Linked DNA regions of Homo sapiens: region 2 is linked to region 1. Evidence: promoter capture Hi-C in 16 types of primary human blood cells and fetal thymus (Javierre and others, 2016). All regions are on one chromosome and are shown on one strand. Each heading gives the region's core, a stretch centred on a gene start or on the middle of the fragment in contact. The rest is flanking DNA. Distances are from core to core; before and after follow the strand shown.

Region 1 (2,700 bases), core at 22-2,521:
TGTTCTTCAACTGTTACCAACCAAAGTAGTGCATCTCAAGATTTATTGAACATTCCTTTCATCTAGATAACTTGTTAAAATTGCAGATTTTGATTCAGCAGCTCTGGATTGAGCCTGAGATCATGCATTTCTAATAAACTCCCAGGTGATGCTATATACCACAATTTGAGTAGCAAGGGTAAAGAACACTGATGCAACTTAAGCTCTACAAAGCTTATAACTGTGGACTTATCTGTAATAAGTCTGATAGTCAGCAAACCAAACACACTACAGACTCACACCAGCACTAAATGTGTTTTGCCATTCCTTAAACGCTCTGAAATTAACAGTCCCTATTTGAAGCTGATAAAGAAAGGAAAAAATATTACCATCAATAACACTAAATTAGAAGTGAGGTTACATACATACACACACACAGGTACAAATATATAACACAAAGGTCAAAATCCAAATAATCAAACATTACCTTACCCAAAATTTGAATATTTTTATTGCTGAGAAAAAAAAATTTTGTTTCTGGAAAAATCTTCAGTGTATTTTAATAGCCACATGCCTACAAGGATCATGCTGCATTCTGGTTTGATTCCAAATGCAAATATATTCAAACATCACAAAATCTAAAAATTGTTCTATTAATGATCAGATAATCTTTACATATTTGTTTAAAACCTCTAACATTACCACAGCCAAATGTGTTTGTGGTGAAAATTCTCTTTGGCCTTAGAAGTTCAACTAGGGCGGAGACCACCCTCCTACCCTGAGACTATAATATATGGCCACAAGCCACTACTATAATTAATTGTTTCTACTATACCCTGTGCTAGGTTACTGCAGAAACAGAGAAAATACCAGTCCCATCATAACCAAAAGGGAAAATGTTTCTACTTTCACCGAAATTTTCCTCAGTGATGAAAGATGTAATATGTGTCATGCAATGGATGTCTCCTATAGAAGAGTCACCCTGCCCTTAATCTGAAGCTCCTCTACTGAACAGAGAAGTTTGAAATAACATGAAAATGGAGGAAGAAAATTCCTATCCCAGGAGGGGGAAAAGCATTATGGCTACAAACTATTCTTCCTTCTGAAGAATAACCGAAATCTGAAGGGCACTACCGCGCTACAACTGAGCTCGTTTAAATTATGGAGGGGAGGAGGTATGTCAACTGCAACCTTGGCACTAGTAGGTAATTTACCAGTCCTTGCTATTTAGTCAAATCACTTTCAGATAGTACTTCTCTCATTCACCAACATGTCACAAAATAATAAAGAAAAAATGACACACGTAATAAGCAAAAGTAGTTTTGCTGAATCACAAATACCCCCAAATATAAATCTACAGGAGTCGCTGAGCTTGAGAATTGGCGGCCATACCTCTCCATGAAGCTCCTCTCTATAAACGGACAACTACCTTCACTTTTTCATTAAAAGCATGTAAGGGTCTAATGTTTAAAGCTATCACACTATTGCTATTAGCAACAAGGTCGCGTGCGCAGTAACAATGCACAACGGTCTTATACTCGAGATAACCACTTTATCTCAAAATTTGCACCACCTATCCCCCAAGGGCAAATGCATCACCCAGGTCCGCAACCGCGGTCACGATGGGTACACTCGCCTCTGCTCAGCCTAGCATACGGTCCCTCCCACCCCGCACCCTGATTGCTCCACTACCATGCTGCCCACTCCCGGGCTGCCTCGGCCAGCCCCCAGTTCCCCGGGTTCCTAAGGTTGCGCAAACAGCCAAGTCTGCAGGCCGCCCTTGCCTCGCTACCGTTATCCCTCATCTCCTGGTAGCCCCACTTTCCTCCCGCCTCTCGGGACTCGGGTGCCCAACCCACTCCCTTCCACTCCCGCGCGCTCGGTGGCTCTCGGGCCGGGGCCTCACCGTTTGGTTCGGTCGGGAATTGCCCGGCCCTCCCGCTCCCACTTCCCAACACGAAGTGGCGTCGGTTGGTCCCTCTCCCCACGCTGCCAGACCCCACGCCGCCGCCTACTGATGCCGAAAGCGGCTTCTAGGAACACGCCATGTTTGGCGTCGCAGCTCCAAACGACGCGGACGCGCGAAAACTACGTCACAGGAGACCAGCGCGCATGCGACCGGCAGAGAGAGAAGGCGATAGGCGAACGGCGGGAAGGGGAAGGAGGGGCTTTGTCTTTGAACCAAAAGGCGCGGGGTATCCAAATCAGTTGTGTGCGCTTGCGCAGTGCGCTTGCGCAGTATAAAGAGCCAGGAGTCCGGACTAGCCGGATCTGTCACCATGGAAACCATAGGTCTGGTTTCTCCGACTCCCAGGGAGCTCAATTGTTTCCTGCGTTGATTGAAGCTTCAATCAGAACCATTTCACGCTTTATATTCTAGATATCAATAGCGGATCCGTCACAGCAGAGAAGAGTTATTTAAAGAATCTTACTCCCATCAGTCCACCCTCCCTCCCGCAAATATTTATTTTTTAAGTTACCCAAATTGCTTGGCGCTTACTCCTGAGTAATAGCAAGAGTGGAAAAATGTAAAAGGACATAAATCCAGTTCTGCTTGCCTCTGCTAAAAGCTAGCATAGTCACCTAAATTTTCTTATCCTTAAAAAGAGAACTTACTCAGGCGCAGTGGCGCGCGCCTGTAGTCCCAGCTACTCCAGATATGGAGGCAGGAGGATCACTTGAGCCCAGGAATTCGAAGCCAACCTGGGACATATAGAGAGT
Region 2 (2,710 bases), core at 199-2,698, 3.1 Mb before region 1:
ATTCATAGATTCACCAGAAGAATTACACCTACTACCTCCGGCGTAGGAAGAAAAAAAAAAATCAAATGGGCAATAATGTTAGCAGAAGCTTGATATTTAAGAGCTGGTATTCAGAAAGATCATCCTTCCTACCCCCTTCCCTCCGGTCCAGTTCTCCTTTCTGGTTCTCACCATCGGAAATTGACTTGGCATTAACTAAGGGCTGGAATTTCAAGGCGTCAATTTTCCCCTGCCCCCAACCTCGGAAACTCTTAAACAGCTCCCTATTCTACACTCAATGGTAGAGACAGATAAATGATGCAGCAGATTACACCGTTGAAAGGCAACATTTGTCCTGAGCTATTTTCACATTTTTTCCTGTTTCCGATGTATGTGCCAGACTTTGTTTGCTTGCTTAGGACATGGAAAACACTGGGCATTTTCTCCCCAGCGGCTTTCATTCTCAGCAAATGAAAGTGAAAGTGCTACATTGTAGCGGTATTTTATCCTTAAAGTCTGGACTGGCAGCTTGTGTGTAGGGGGGAGGGAGGGTGGGATTGGGAAGGTTGAAGAACCAGTTTTGAGGTTTTGTTTGTTTATCTTGAGATCGCAGCAGGGTTCCTGTTTTTTTCCCTTCCTTTTTTTTTTTGGTGGTGGGGTCCTACTTCGGATTTATTTTCATTTGGGCAGTCATTGAAGTTTCATTCAATGGACTGACTTAAAAAAATACACTCCACTTGTGGCTTTTCCCGGTTGCACTTTAAAACACCATCCAGTCTCACCCTCATCTGGAAATAATGCAAGCTTCTCTCTTCCTTCCCCCGCTCCCTCCTCCCCTACTTTTTTTTTTTCTTCTTCTTCTTCTTTTAAAGCTCCACATAACCTGAAGTCGATAATCAAATGGAAAATGTGCTGGTATTAGTTTACTTTAGTTTACTTTCCCTTTTGGTGCTAACCTTACTTGCTGAAGTATGTATAAAACACAGGCATTTTGTACACTTGTAGCTACTGAGTCTTGTGCCTGCTGCACGAATCTAAGCTTTAAGTTTCCTCAGAGGCACTGTTTGCGTGCAAGTTTTAACATTTTGATTGTGTGGATTTTAAAAATAAAATTACACGGAGAATGACACCAGAGATCTTAACAGTGACATTAGTCCATCTAAAGTCATTCATCCTTCTCCCTCCCCCTTCATTTTTCCAAGAAACAACTAATAGCAAACCAGGCTAGAATTTCTAAGAGAGTTTAGAGGAGGAGGAGGAAAAGAGGCGGAATGAGATAGGACAGAGAGGTTAGAGAGGCCAGAATTTCTCTCATTCACAGTGTGGAAAAGTTGACATTGTCTAAGCCCTTCTGAATGGCTGGTAGTTGGTTACCCCGATTGTACCTCTACCTCCCCTCCCCCTCCACGTGACGACCCAGGACACATGCGCACCCGACGCAGCCCAGGCACATCTGCAGACTGACGTCAGTGTGCTCTGCCTCCGAGGAAAAGCTGCCAAAATTTTCTCCTGCTGCAATTCAAGTTGGCTGGGGGCCGGTAGTGAGATCTAGGGCTACTTCAACAAAACTTTGCTGCCCTTCCTGCTCCTCTTGTCTTCTTTTCTCCTGATACCTTTTGATGCTCTGCACATGTTATTTGCATAGCAAAGGCACTAAGCTTTCCAGGAAGAGAGGGCACCACTTCCACCCCCAATAAGTCTTTTTTCCCGTCTTTTCTTTCTTTTCCTTTCCTTTTTTGGGGGGTGGGGAGGGAGAGAAAGGGGGTTTGCAAAGGCAGCATCTCAGAGTGATAGCCTAGATGTATTGAAGGCATCTCTTATTCTGCCAAATCGGAAAGTCAGTTCTCTAAAGCCCGGGTTAGCCAGACCATAGGGTTTTATTCTGGCTGCAGAATAACTGGCTGGTGTGGCTTTGCAAAGGGGGGCAAAAAATAAAAAAATAAAAAAAATTAAAAAAAGTTAGAGAGGAGAGGGAGTACGTGAGTCGTCCAGTGCAATCTCTATTGTCTGAAACTTACTTTTTATCAGAATTTGAAGATGAAAACGGTAAGGAAGACTTAACAATATTCAATGGAGCTTTTTTTTTTTAAACCAACAACTTGTGCTTTGCTTGTCTTCCGAATAACGCTTAGAAAACTTTTTTTCTGTGTGTGTGTTTTTTTTTTTTTTTTTAATGGCAATGAGTGAGCTTGACTGAACTCATTTTACAAATAGATATCTTTTTAACTCCAGACTTGTCGGGGGTTGTAGAATTCTGGGACTTGCAGTTATTTTATGATGCAAAAAAAATACGTTTATTTTATGAATATACAATACATGTTTTGTGAAGTGGACTTGATTATGATTATTGTAATCTTTTAACTGATCACCAAATAGTAATCCGGAAGGTAATAATGATGTGTGTGTTTTAAATTGATTTCCAGTTTTCTTACAGAAAAGTCTTATGCATTTTGTAGTTTCATGTCAGTGTCGTTAAGTCTTCAGACAAGTGCATATTTTATGCCTGGGCTCAGAGGGTAGCATTAATGTGCTAGCTGTAGCCCCGATGCTCTAGGACATGTTAAGCTCTTAATAGGCTAATCAAAGAGATGGAAACGTGTGTTTTTGATTTACTTTTGGCCACTTGGGACGTGCTAGACTCATAACCCTCCGGAGCCTTGTTTATCGGGGTAGGTCTGTATATATGGTGTATGGGACCAAAGTTCAGGGATTGAGGAGGGAGAGTGAGAGT

Evidence for each region. Contacts are between HindIII fragments. The CHiCAGO score rates a contact against its expected background, and 5 or more counts as called.
Region 2: a contact is called between the fragment with the promoter of ADAMTS6 here and a fragment that was not itself captured in region 1, in 1 of 17 cell types (fetal thymus). The highest score is 7.1, in fetal thymus.

What each region holds. Positions count from the first base shown.
Region 1 is chr5:62,412,115-62,414,814 of GRCh38, reverse strand. It overlaps IPO11 (importin 11), which reads right to left and starts at 2,052. Exons shown (of 30, transcript NM_016338.5): 1 at 1,886-2,052. RefSeq lists a silencer at 1,562-1,611 and an enhancer at 1,942-2,131. The HindIII fragment of the contact is 2,111 bases long and covers 216-2,326 here.
Region 2 is chr5:65,480,658-65,483,367 of GRCh38, reverse strand. It overlaps ADAMTS6 (ADAM metallopeptidase with thrombospondin type 1 motif 6), which reads left to right and starts at 1,448. Exons shown (of 25, transcript NM_197941.4): 1 at 1,448-2,025. RefSeq lists enhancers at 1,246-1,295, 1,069-1,568, 1,336-1,695. The HindIII fragment of the contact is 619 bases long and covers 1,021-1,639 here.